4 separate regions of the Homo sapiens genome follow, and all the other regions are linked to region 3. The links are contacts of gene promoters, found by promoter capture Hi-C in blood cells and fetal thymus (Javierre and others, 2016). All regions are on one chromosome and are shown on one strand. Each heading gives the region's core, a stretch centred on a gene start or on the middle of the fragment in contact. The rest is flanking DNA. Distances are from core to core; before and after follow the strand shown. Region 1 holds the start of HORMAD2 (HORMA domain containing 2). Region 2 overlaps HORMAD2 (HORMA domain containing 2). Region 3 holds the start of CASTOR1 (cytosolic arginine sensor for mTORC1 subunit 1). Region 4 overlaps MTFP1 (mitochondrial fission process 1).

Evidence for each region. The method cuts DNA at HindIII sites, captures the fragments that hold promoters and counts their contacts. A CHiCAGO score of 5 or more calls a contact.
Region 1: a contact is called between the fragment with the promoter of HORMAD2 here and the fragment with the promoter of CASTOR1 in region 3, in 2 of 17 cell types (activated CD4 T cells and M1 macrophages). The highest score is 7.4, in activated CD4 T cells.
Region 2: a fragment that was not itself captured here is called in contact with the fragment with the promoter of CASTOR1 in region 3 in 12 of 17 cell types (total CD4 T cells, activated CD4 T cells, naive CD4 T cells and 9 more); the score reaches 9.3 in total CD4 T cells.
Region 4: a contact is called between a fragment that was not itself captured here and the fragment with the promoter of CASTOR1 in region 3, in 11 of 17 cell types (naive CD4 T cells, naive CD8 T cells, non-activated CD4 T cells and 8 more). The highest score is 10.1, in naive CD4 T cells.

The regions. Positions count from the first base shown.
Region 1 is chr22:30,078,888-30,082,010 of GRCh38, reverse strand. HORMAD2 (HORMA domain containing 2) reads right to left here and starts at 1,547. Exons shown (of 11, transcript NM_152510.4): 1 at 1,520-1,547. It overlaps HORMAD2-AS1 (HORMAD2 and MTMR3 antisense RNA 1), which reads left to right and starts at 1,754. Exons shown (of 5, transcript NR_110541.2): 1 at 1,754-1,883. RefSeq lists enhancers at 1,477-1,556, 1,394-2,091 and a silencer at 1,897-1,946. The HindIII fragment of the contact is 6,725 bases long and covers 1-3,123 here.
Region 2 is chr22:30,118,987-30,121,880 of GRCh38, reverse strand. It overlaps HORMAD2 (HORMA domain containing 2), which reads right to left. Exons shown (of 11, transcript NM_152510.4): 8 at 2,834-2,894; 9 at 92-249. Among named protein-coding and RNA genes, the nearest start is that of HORMAD2, 40 kb to the right of the region's middle. The HindIII fragment of the contact is 2,545 bases long and covers 234-2,778 here.
Region 3 is chr22:30,288,057-30,290,802 of GRCh38, reverse strand. It overlaps CASTOR1 (cytosolic arginine sensor for mTORC1 subunit 1), which reads left to right and starts at 1,298. Exons shown (of 9, transcript NM_001037666.3): 1 at 1,298-1,418; 2 at 2,027-2,097. The coding sequence starts at 1,306. RefSeq lists an enhancer at 1-40 and silencers at 921-1,360, 1,561-1,640. The HindIII fragment of the contact is 5,917 bases long and covers 1-2,746 here.
Region 4 is chr22:30,428,724-30,431,865 of GRCh38, reverse strand. MTFP1 (mitochondrial fission process 1) reads right to left here. Exons shown (of 4, transcript NM_016498.5): 4 at 2,812-3,142. Among named protein-coding and RNA genes, the nearest start is that of MTFP1, 4.5 kb to the right of the region's middle. The HindIII fragment of the contact is 2,630 bases long and covers 569-3,142 here.

The DNA.
Region 1 (3,123 bases), core at 298-2,797, 210 kb after region 3:
CATCTGGAGGGTGGGGGGAAGAACAGAGAATTAAAAGAAACTTAACCTAAATCTCACACTGTATACAAATATTAATGCAAAATGGATCATGGATTTAAACCTAAACATAAAACTATAAAGAAAAGGGGCCAGGTGCAGTGGCTCACACCTGTAATCCCAGCACTCTGGGAGGCCGAGGTGGGAGGATCACGAGGTCAAGAGATCGAGACTATCCTGGCCAACATGGTGAAACCCTGTCTCTACTAAAAATAAAAAAAAATAAAAAAATTTAGCTGGGCGTGGTGGTGCACACCTGTAGTCCCAGCTACATGGGAGGCTGAGGCAGGGGAATCGCTTGAACCCGAGAGGTGGAGGTTGCAGTGAGCTGAGATTGCGTCACTGCACTCCAGCCTGGCACAGAGCTCGACTCCATCTCACAAAAAAAAAAGAAAAAAGAAAAGGAAAGTGAGGCTAAGCAAGGGAACTTGGTTTGCCAAAGTTCGCCCAATTACTTAGACCTTCCAACAGAGCTTGCTTCAATAAATTATTCACCATTTTAACAAATTCCATTTGGCCCTGGTAATTCCCCTACCTGTGCTCATTCAGAGAAAATGGCTTCCACTATATTAATTGAGTATTTGTTCATGCTCTTTTGACTTTTTAATATCTTTTTCATGCTATTTCAATTATTCATTCATTCAACATCTACGAGGCAACTACAATGTGCCAGGCAACAACATGCAGGATTACGAGATGTAAAATACTGTTCCTACCTCAACAGATTGATGGTCCAATGGAGGAGAAATTAGATTATGATCCTGCTGAGATTAAAAACCCCTTTAGGGGCCAGAACCACCCCTCATTTCTACCAGCTGAGTACACGATGTACTGCACAGCCTGTCCAGTGCCCTGCGTACTCGGACACATTTTGGCGATTGGCTAATCCTGAGGTTCAAGACTCTCTCCCTCTGTTTAGGGAACTAAAGTCCATAGGGATTAATTGGCAAATCCTCACTAAAGTGAAAGGGGAGCTGAGGTCAAGGGGGGCGGGGTGTCTTGTCCCCACCTCTCTCACCTCTTGGCCTGTACCAGGCATCGATCCTGGCAGAAAACCTCAATGGCTGGGGAGAATCTGACCCAGGTAAGATAAACTTCCCCAAAGCTCCACCACACACGGCCCCCTCCAATGTCGGGCACAGACATCGTCTGCCCTGCCAGCCTCATCATGGCTCATTATGGCTGCTGCTTGCTCAGCAAGTTTGATTTCATGTCCAGAAAAATCTGAATTTCAAAACTACCTGGGTGCTCTCTGTCCAGTTCTGGGGGAAATCGCCTCCCTTTTGCCTTCCTCCTCAGCCCCCTGCCCTCCCGATTCTCTTCACAGTACTTTAGGCCCTCACGAAATATGATACTTTCAAATCCAACTTAAAGCCTTAAGTAATAAGAAAAGAAAAAAAAATTGTTTTTTGACATAAAGACAGAACTAACAACGCCCGAGTGCCCTCTCTGGGCCGAGACCTCGCGTCTCAACAGCCCTCACCTCAGCTCGTCGACGCTTCCCTCCCACCGGGGGTCAACGGCCTTTTCCGGCCCAAACCCGCTCCTCGGCTCATGAATAGTCAACGAGGCCTTTCTGGGCGGGACCAGAGGTTTCCTCATGAATAATTCATGACCCGTCCACGGCTAGCCTGGGCGACCGGCCTCGCTAGACTTCATGAATATGCAAAGCAGGGGCGAACGGCGGCTAGCCGGCCCCTAGCCCGCCCGGCCCCTCAGCAGCCGCCTCTCAGCCACGGGCTGCACACTGACCCGACGCGACCTTCGGTCAGGGGCCGCCAGCCTGGGCCACCTATACAACGACAGCCTGCTCCGGGGCTTCCTGAGGAGGTGCCTGCCCCGCCGAGGTTAGGACCCGAGGGACCGTGGGGCTCGGGCGGGCCAGGACGCCAGGCCGGCGGGTCCCAGAGAGGTCTGAGGCGGGCGCGGGGCGGCGTAGGGGAGGGAAGCGAGAGCCTGGGGGGCCCAGGGACCCGAGTTAGAAGAAGGCCCGAGAAGTGCGGCGCGGTGGCTCCACCTGGGATCCCAGCACTCTGGGAGGCTGAGGCGGGCGCGTCACTTGAGGTCAGGAATTCGAGACCAGCCTGGCCAACATGTTGAAAACCCGTCTCTACAAAAAATACAAAAATTAGCTGGGCGTGGTGGCGCGCGCCTGTAGTCCCAGCTACTTGGGAAGCTGAGGCACGAGAATCGCTTGAGCCCAGGAGGCTGAGGTTGCAGTGAGCCGAGATTCCGCCATTGCACTCCAGCCTGGGCGACAGAGCGAGACTCCGTCTCAAAAAAATTTTAAAAAGTACAAAAATTAGCTGGGCCACCTGACGTGCGCCTGTAGTCCCAGCTGCTCGGGAGGCTGAGGTAGGAGGATCGCTTGAGCCGGGGAGTTTGAGGTTGCAGTGAGCCAAGATCGTACCATTGCACTCCAGCCTGGGCAACAGAGGGAGACCCTGTCTCAAAAATAAAAAAAAAGAAAAGAAAGAAAAAAGACATAAGGCCAGAAGGCCAGAGCTTTCCAATACTTGAGGGCATCTGCAACCTCTTCATCCCTACCCTGGACCTGACTTTGCATTCTTTTTAACATTAATTTGTAATTATGCAAATAAAACATAAATATATTCTCCTTTGTGCCCTACCCCTAATCTCAGTTTTTTCTGCCCTGGTAACTGTGGGAGCAGTTGGGGGTGTGGCTCCTTGGATCGTTTCTCACCTGTTTAGGTAGATATTTCGTATCCTGTGGTGCTTTCCAAAGGCTCCTGGAGTCCCATGAACCTCCCCAAGGGGATTTCCCAAGAGAGTAGATGAAAGAGTGAGCCACTTGAAACCTGTTCTTATTTTGTTTCTGCAGGAAAGAAAAAAAAAACTATTCAAGTTGGCGAGAACATGAGTTTAGAACATAATGACTAAAACTGAAATTTGGGCTGAAATATTCTTTTAGTGCAAGTTTTCTCAACCTTCTCCCCACCCCCACCATCATAACAACCAAAAATTTCTCTAGACTTTGCCAAATGTCCCATGGGGTGTGCAAAATTGCCCTCTGTTGAGAACTACTGCGTTCACCCTATACTTTCCGGAAGTAACTGCTTTTTAAGC
Region 2 (2,894 bases), core at 257-2,756, 170 kb after region 3:
CTTCTCTTTCAGATGCCTGCAAAATCCTTTTACTTATAGAAAATATTAGCTCAGCACTTAAGGAGGAATTTGCCTAAAGTTCTCTACCTACCTGCATTATAGTAGTGGAGTTTCATAGTAAGTACAACATTATTAGGAAGTGGCTCAAGGTCCTGCATCAGTATATACAATTTACGGATCAGTAGAACACTGGCTTTCTTAATATCTTCATTGTTTGTTCCACTTTCAAAGCTTGTACTGCTGCTATGACTACACAGAAAAAAAAGCATACTTTTTGATCATATACAATAGTGGCAATCTATCCCAAAAGGAACAAAACTTTTGACTATGTGAGTAAATATAAATTAAACATTAGTATATTTTGAGACTTTTTTAGAATGTAAATTAGGGGAGCGATGGTACTTTTTGCAATGTATATACAAAGAATTTCTTAAGTAGCAAATTCCCTAAAAGCATTTAAAATACGATCTTTTTAAAAATTTGATTTGAAAAAAATCATATACCACAACAGTAAGAACAACGAATTTGGAATTAGGTGACCTGGCATCTAATATCAGCTCTGCTGATAACTAGCTGAATGACCTTGGTCAAGTCATTTAGACACACTCTAGGTCAGTTAGCTCATTTGTGAGATAAGCGTAAAGACATTTCTACAACTCTCAAGCATAAAATCAATCACCAGCTCTGGGACTTTCTACCGTCTGATTATCTCGCAAAAGTATCCCTTCCTCACTCTTGCATTGATTACTACAGTGGCTATCTAACTATTTTTCCTGCTTTCCTTCTTGTCCACACTACAAAATATTCTCCATATCACCGCTGAAATAATATTACTAATAGGAAAATCTGTTCATGTCACCTTCTTACTTAGAATTCTTCTATTATATCCATCAGTTTTCAATCAAATTCAAAGACAGTGTGTATACAATTCCTTTCACAACCCGTCATATCCTCACCTCCATCCTCATCTGCAGCTATTGCCCAGTTTCCTCTCACTCAAAGTATTTGCATATGCTGTTCACTTTGCTTGTACTGTGCTTTTCCACTTTTCTTCCTGACTGTCCTAAATTTATCCTCTAATACCTAGCTCATGCGCAGACTCTTCAAAGAAGTCTTCTCTGATAATACCCTCATCTCATCCTCAGGATAACTATTTGTCCTTCTCTAGACTGTGAGTGGCTATATCTTTCATCTCCACAGTACAGAGTTTGGTGCCCAGCTATTCAATCAACATTTGTTGAATTAATGAATGAATGAACAATTTGGACTAAATTACCTTCCAATTCTAAACTTTGTTCATTTATCTCCAAAGTTTCCTTCCACAATTAGTCTCACATTTGAGTAGTTTCCAGGAGGGACCATGACTATAATATATTTACACATGGCTGTGCACATAGTTAGCTCTTAATATGAAAAATAACCCTAAGTAATTGAAATGTTGGATTTTTCCCTAACTGATCTTTGGAGACAGTGTGAATTCATGAAGCAAACATTTATTAAGTGAATACATTAGCTCCTTTTCCAATTTTGAACAACTTAAAATTCTGCCAACCAGGATTTAACCAATTCAAATGTAGGTAACCAGAATGAAGGGCTATAGATATGTAGCTCATGGGAGCCTCCAGGACACATCAGTAAAATCATATTCAGGACTCCCATTTAAACAAATGCCTATATTTCTTCTCTAGGAAATTAATAATATGCATCACCTTCTCTCCTTAGCATGTGAAAGATTTGGCCATTTTTGTTTTACAGCTTACCTCTTGGCATATGTGCCTTCAGAACAAAAGAGTTTAATCTGGCCATCAGTGTATATTTTTGAGTTTTGGAGAGTAAAGGTAACTTTTTATGTGAGAAAACGTGTATGAAAAGTGCTGCTGTATAAGCTGTAAAGTATTATACAAATGTTAGCTAATAAAAGGTAATATTTTAATTCTCATTTTTGGAACTGATTTTCTCTTCACATTCTAGTGCTGTCTGTAGGTTTTACAAATGGAAGGATAATCAAGGGAGTGAATCTTGGAGAAAAGTCCTCAAGCTCATGGCAAATGATGAGCCAGAGCTAATAGTAGGGAAAATTGAAAATTAGGCCATGTCTCTCATCAGTCTTTCCTTTCAAGGGCATCCATCCCCCTTACTTGGATTCCTCTACTATCCAGAGCTTTTCACCATCATCTGTACCTTCCACTACTGTGCCATCTCATCAGCAATACTTAGCTCTCCATCCCCCCTGGCAGGTCTGAATCCAAAAGCTACTGGGAGAAAAATAAACGTTGCTCTTCAATGTCCTTGTGTTTGCTATTTAACCCATTAGTAACCTAAAACTTGGAATTTTCGACTTCATAAGGAAACTGCAGTGCTTTCTAATCTTTTCATACAAGGACACAAGGAAATGATATTTATATGACATACTGGGGTAAGCAAATGAGAATATTTGTGCATACGGGCAAATAGTCCAAGGGTATTATCTACCCTAGGCACAGGCTGGCTATATCGAGGTGGAAAGGATCGCTATCTAGGCATAGCAGTTGAGAAACTTTGAATTAATGGCTAGACAGAGCCTTATGGAGTTATTCAATCAATAGCGTGTAGGCAACCTTATTGACATAATTTCTACCTTTGTGCTGCATGCCATTTTCTCTATTCCCACCAGCTTAATCCATGGATTTCAGGAATGTAAACAATTGTTGCAGCCCCTTTTTATAATAGTGGTTTTCTGTAGGGTTTGTGGGGAAATGTGTAAAGAAGTATAAGGCCTTTCTCTGGCCTCAAGAAGCTTATGTTTACCTCAATCCTATTTATTTCTCATGTTCATTAAGCAGTTAGATTCTACCTGTCAAAATCCATAGTGGCTCCTTCTTTCGTGTATTTGAATTTGAACTGGTACATCTCAG
Region 3 (2,746 bases), core at 49-2,548:
GCTTAGCTTGGCTTCCATCTGCCTATGGTGGGGGCTCCAGAGCAGGCAGAGGGCCTGCTTAGGCCTGCTGGGTCCCAATCAGGCCTGAGGCCTGCTTTAGTCTACTTGGTTCAAAGCCTCACATCTGAGGCCTCAGGGTGCTCAGGCCAGGCAAGGGTCCCCTGGAGCATTCTCAGCCCTGCATGGAGCCAACATGGACATGCTGATGCCTGCTTAGCCTTGGGGGGGTCTTAGACCTGTGAAGGCCTGATAAGATCTGGGGTGTCTGCCAGTGCCGGGGGCCTCCTTGAACCTGAAGCAAGTTTAGATGTGCACAGGCTAGCTAAGGGCTGCAGGCTTTGGGGCTCAAGTTTCAGGCTTGAGGTCTGAGTACTCACTGAACCTCAGCTGCAAGGGCCTCCCCCACCAAAGTCTGAGCACTGGGCATTACTGGCTCAAGCACTTCCGGGTTTTGTTGGTATCGAGGGACCTCAAGCCTTAGGCCTTGGCCACCTGCAGCCCCCTAACCCAAAGTATGTCGCTCAGGCAGAGGTGGCTAGGATTCTACCTCTGTGTGCCCCTGGTGAGGAGCCTTCTATTTTGAAAGTTGGATGAAAGGAACAAGTGGGGCTACCAGGCCAGGTTTCAATTTGTCAGCCCCCTCGCAAGCGGGGAAGGGTAGGTATCAATCGCAATCCTGTGTTGGCGGCCCTGCCCCCTGCAGCCATGAGAGGCAGGAGAGCGAAAGGCGCCCGGGGGACAGCGCTGCACAGCAGACCTGTGCCTCTCATTGCTCCGGGGATTTGGGGGCAGCGTTCTGGTCCTAGCCGAGCTCCAGTTTGTTTCGTGTCCCTTCTGTCTCAAGGACTTCAATCATGAAACCCACGTGTGTGCCAGAAGGACAGAAACGTCCCCTCCGGGATGCTCCCACCGGCTGCGCAGCTGGCTTTCCGCGGAAAGGGCGGAGCCCAGGGAGGGGGCGCGTCAGGGGCGGGGCCTGGAGGAGTCAGACGGGGTGGGGTCTATCCCCGAGCCAGTACTAAAAAAGGCGGAGCCGTTCGGGGCGGTCTCGGTGGGCTGGCTGGAAAGCGGGATGAGGTTCTGGCGTTAGGAGGAGGCGTGACCACCCAATAGGCTTCTCTTCCCGCGGGGCGTGGCCGTCAAGGAGCCGGACGCCGCGCCTGGCTGGGCGGGTCAGCCTCGCAGCGGGCGGCGTGGACGCGGCAGCGCAGCGGCTCCTTTAAGGCTCGGGCACCACCCCCGCCGCCCCGCCTCCCGTGCGGCCTGGGTCTAGTTGGCGGCGGGGTCGGGTCCGCGCGAGCCGCGATGGAGCTGCACATCCTAGAACACCGGGTGCGGGTGCTGAGCGTCGCCCGTCCCGGTCTCTGGCTCTACACCCACCCGCTCATCAAGCTGCTCTTCCTGCCCCGCCGCAGCCGGTGCGCGCCCGGGTTCGGGAGCGCAGATAGGGGCTGGGGGCTCTGCTCTCGCTCCGGGCCAGGGTCGGAGGATTAGGATCGCCGTAAGGCAGGCAGGCAGGCGGGCGGGAGCGGGTGGGGAGGACTCTCCCCGTCCGGCCGCCATCCGGCCTGGGGGACCGCCGCCTATCCGGCCCCGTGAGGCCCCCTCCCAGGGGCAAAGCGCAAACAGCCTGGGATGGGCAATGCTTAACTCAGTAGTGTCAAATGGGGGCATTCCTACCTGGTCACTGCGGGGAGCTCCTTCCAGGACGCCTCCCTTCATGTCAGAGGGGCTGGACTAGGGGGTCCAAGGTCCGACGCCCCTGGGGCTGTCGCCGCGGGTGTGAACCTCTCCTCCCTCCAGGAGTGGAGGGGTGGAGGGTTCCTGGAGAGGTCGGGAGGCCGGAAAGTAGCCCCCAACCCCCGAGATGGGGCTAACATCCCATTGGCCTGGAAATTAAAGGCCGAGAGGGCAAGAAGGCGCCCGGCCCAGGGTCGCGGGGGTGTCTCGGGGCAGATGGAGAGAAATCCACTCCCGACCCCTAGTTCTCCACACCAAGCTGAAGATGCTCCCCACCCCCAACCAGGTGCAAGTTCTTCAGCCTGACGGAGACCCCTGAGGATTACACGCTTATGGTGGACGAGGAGGGCTTTAAAGGTGGGGGTTGGTCTGGGGAACGGGAGTACGGGAGGGGCTTGTCGTGCTCCCCTTCTGTAGGGTTCTCACCAGTTGCTGGGATCCGTCCCAAGAGCTTAAGCCTTAAAAGCAGATGGGTCGGGGTTCGAATCCTACTCCACCACTCCCTGGCTGTGTGCCCTTGAGCAAATCACTTTCCCTCTCTGAGCTGTTTTCTCTTATGTAAAATGGGTATAGTTATGGTTCTGATACATAGGGTCCCATGAGGCCTTTATAAACTTAAAACCGCTGAGGGGCACTCAGCAGTCTTAGGCCTGCAGAAGGGCCTCTGTTATGATTCCAGTCAAGTGCTGCTGTTAGAAATCCCTGGGTATTATTTCCTCCTGGTCTTACTCTCTGGTTTGGGTCACCTCCTCCCCTGCTGGTCTGGAAACTCCAGGAGTCTGAGGGAAGGAATGCAGGAGCAGGCAGCCATCTCAGGGGAGGGTCCTGGAGGCCTCCTGGCTGTGCTGGGGTGAATAGCAGCCACCCAGGCCCTGGCCCCAGCTCAGGACTGGACGCCAGCCTGGGCCCTCCCTGGGGCCTGGAGCTGACGCCTAGCTCCTCCTCCTGCTGCTGGCCCTGCCCATCCTCACAGGCTTGGAGTCTCAGGCCAGCTAGCTGGAGCTTA
Region 4 (3,142 bases), core at 634-3,133, 140 kb before region 3:
TCCCAGCTACTTGGGAGGCTGAGATGTGAGAATCACTTGAGCCTGAGAGGTAAAGACTACAGTAAGCCATAATTGCACCGCTGCACTCCAGCCTGGGCAACAGAGCGAGACCCTGTCTCAAGGAAAAAAAAAGCCAATTCTGCTTTGAAGAATGATGTGCTGAGTTGCATCTGGTGGTAGACAGTGGGGTCTTCCCTTCTGTGAGCCTCAGTGTCTTCATGTGGAATATGGGAATGATGGTTTTATCTCCTCACGGGGCTGTTGAGGATGCAAGAAACAAATGCACGTAAAGGGCACGTACAAACACACAGATGCTAAATGGCAAATCTGCATCAAATCCTTAGCTACTGAATTCTGCAGAGATACAGGGCTCTGCATCTTTGAGAGAAAAACTCACACTCGGAGAGGCTGTGACTTGCAAATCAGTATGATCTGATTCTACCCTTCTTTCCAGCCCAGACACCCCAGCTCTTCTCCCCCGAATCTCCCGGGTACTCCCTGGCTCTTGGCAGCCTTGTCCTCGTGAGCCTCCAACAGCCCCCTCACCAGTTGGATGAAGCCATAAGCTTTGAATGGGGCAGTGAAGACCTCATAGCCAGGTATGGCAGGGACTGGGGAGGGCAGGCAGGTGCCAAGGCACAGGTGGCAAGCATCCACCTGGGGCTCCTTCCTCACTGCCAGGAGGACATCTGTCTGATTACAGTCCTGCAGGAGGCTGTCTCCTGGCAATCCAGCCCAGGCTAGCTCAGGCGGAGAACCAGACTCAGCGAGAACATGGCCAGCAGAGGGTGCCCAAAAACCTCCCCCAGCATCCCCCACCTTCAATTAATTCCCTGCATCTCCAGAATGGAGCAGGGAGCTGGGCACAGTGACTCACGCTTGCAATCCCCGCATTTTGGGAGGCTAAGGTGGGCAGATCAGTTGAGGTCAGGAATTTAAGACCAGCCTGGCCAACATGGTGAAACCCCGTCTCTACTAAAAATACAAAAATTAGCTGGACATGGTGGCATGCACCTCTAGTCCCAGCTACTTGGGACACTGAGGCAGGAGAACTGCTTGAACCCGGGAGGCAGAGGTTGCAGTAAGACAAGTTTGTGCCACTGCACTCCAGCCTGGGTGACAGAGCGAGACTCAGTCTCAAAATGATAATAATAATAATAAATGGAGCAGGGTAAAATGTTGGGGGGTTGTGGAGATGGTGGTGTTTCCCCCTACAGACAGGATGTCCACCGACCTCATCCCTATCAGCCTGGCCTGGGAGTGCCTCAAAGCCCCTTCTGTGAGCACCTACTATGTGCCAGGCATCTGCAAACTTGCACCCCGGTATTTCCTCACAAGTTACCACCAACGGGGCAGTCAAGGGCAGAGGTGGCCCACAGTAAGGCATAGTAAGGGGCAACAACAGAAGGGGCACTGGAGCTGGTTCTGAAGGGTGCTCATAGCTGGCCAAGAGGAAAAGGATTTGCAGCTGAGGAACAGTGTGTTGTGAGGAAAGGCATAGAGGCACAGGAGGGCAGGTGATGGGGAGAAGGACAAGGCTGGGCGCTTAGGCCCATGAGCACAAAGCCTATATGTGGCCTGCACAGATCCCAGCTTGAGGGAGAGCCTGCAGAGTGGAAAGTGGAGAGTGAGTGAGCAAGGAATTGGTGGTAGATGCCAGGAGATGTCACAGGGATGCAGGTGTGAATGTACCCCGCATGGGGCTGTGACTGCCGGGGGAGAAGATGAGCTGGGAAAATGCTGGGCTGGAGAAGGATGTGAGTGCCAGCTCAGACAGGGAATGGGGGGTGGGGTCGGGGGCTAGAGAACAAGGCGGGGCTTAAAGCCTTTAAGGGAGCTGGGAGGGAGTGACAGGTGACTGGGCAGAGGCCATAGGGGCTTGGGAAGGGGACCTTGCCAGTGTGGGACAATAAGAGTAGCAGAGAAAGGCTCAGCCCACATCAGACTCATCCTGTAGCCATGGATACCCCCAGAGCAGCAGGGGCCACCACCCCGGAGCCCCCATCCTGTCTTGCTGGCAGCACCCCTACCCAGCCCTGCAGCCCCTTTAAGTCCCAGCCCAGGTGCAGGTGAGTCCCACCAGGACAGGGTCAGCCTACCTGACTGCACCTGGGCTGCAAGGGATGGGGCCAGGGTCTTGGTGGGAGCTGATTTGGTGCTTGGGGCAGGGCTGAGAGGGGCCCAGGTCTGCTTCAGCCCTGTGCTCCCACCTCTCTACCTCTCTGAGCTGTTGAGGGGGATGGCCCAGGATCAGAGGAATGGCCCCCTCTAGCACTCTCGAGCCCAGCAGCTCAGGGGAAGCCACAAGGAAAACAGGCCATTCCCTGATTCTGAGTGTAAGAAGCCCCCTGGTCACTTCCTTCTCCAGGCTGCCGAGTCCCCTCATGAGGAGGTCTCATGTGACCCTCATATGGGGCTGACACCACCATCTTGGCCACCTTCAGGCTCAGGTGGTATCTGCCCAACAGGCTCCCCTCCCAGAGGGGTTGGTGCTTTAGGAGGCTAGAAAAAGAGGGCAATGCCAGGCTGAGTGCAGTGGCTCATTCCTATAATCCCAGCAGTTTGGGATGCTGAGGTGGGAGGATTGCTTGAGCCCAGGCATTCAAGGCCAGCCTGGGCAACATAGGGAGACCCCCATCTCTATTAAAAGTAAGTAAGTAAAGGGTAATGCCTACCCCAAAGGAGGCTGGCAGCACCAACGTGGGATGCCAGGCACCTGCAGGGAAGCACTAATGGGCGGGGAGACTGCTACCCATCCCTCCTCCCCACCACCACATCCCTGCTCCTCCCAAACAGAAATGAAGACATAACAACCTCTTCAGGATTTATTGGGTCAGGGAAGGGCCTGGCCAGAGAATCTGTCCTGAGGTGTCCCTGGTACTGCACTCCTGAGTTTCTCCCTGAGTTGTCTGCCGCTCCTTGTTCAGCCATACCACCATGGGGTGACTCTGTCAAGCACCTGGGGGTCCTGGGTGCCCAGCTTGCCAAGTGATCTTGGGCCTATTCCTTGCCCTCCCTGAGCCTCAGTCTCTCATCCTCCATGGGAGGATGTAATTTTCCTGAAAAAGACAGGGCCGGGCCCACCCAGGGTCCACTTCCACTCAGCATCTTGGATTCCAGGGAAGCAGACAGCGTTCAGGTC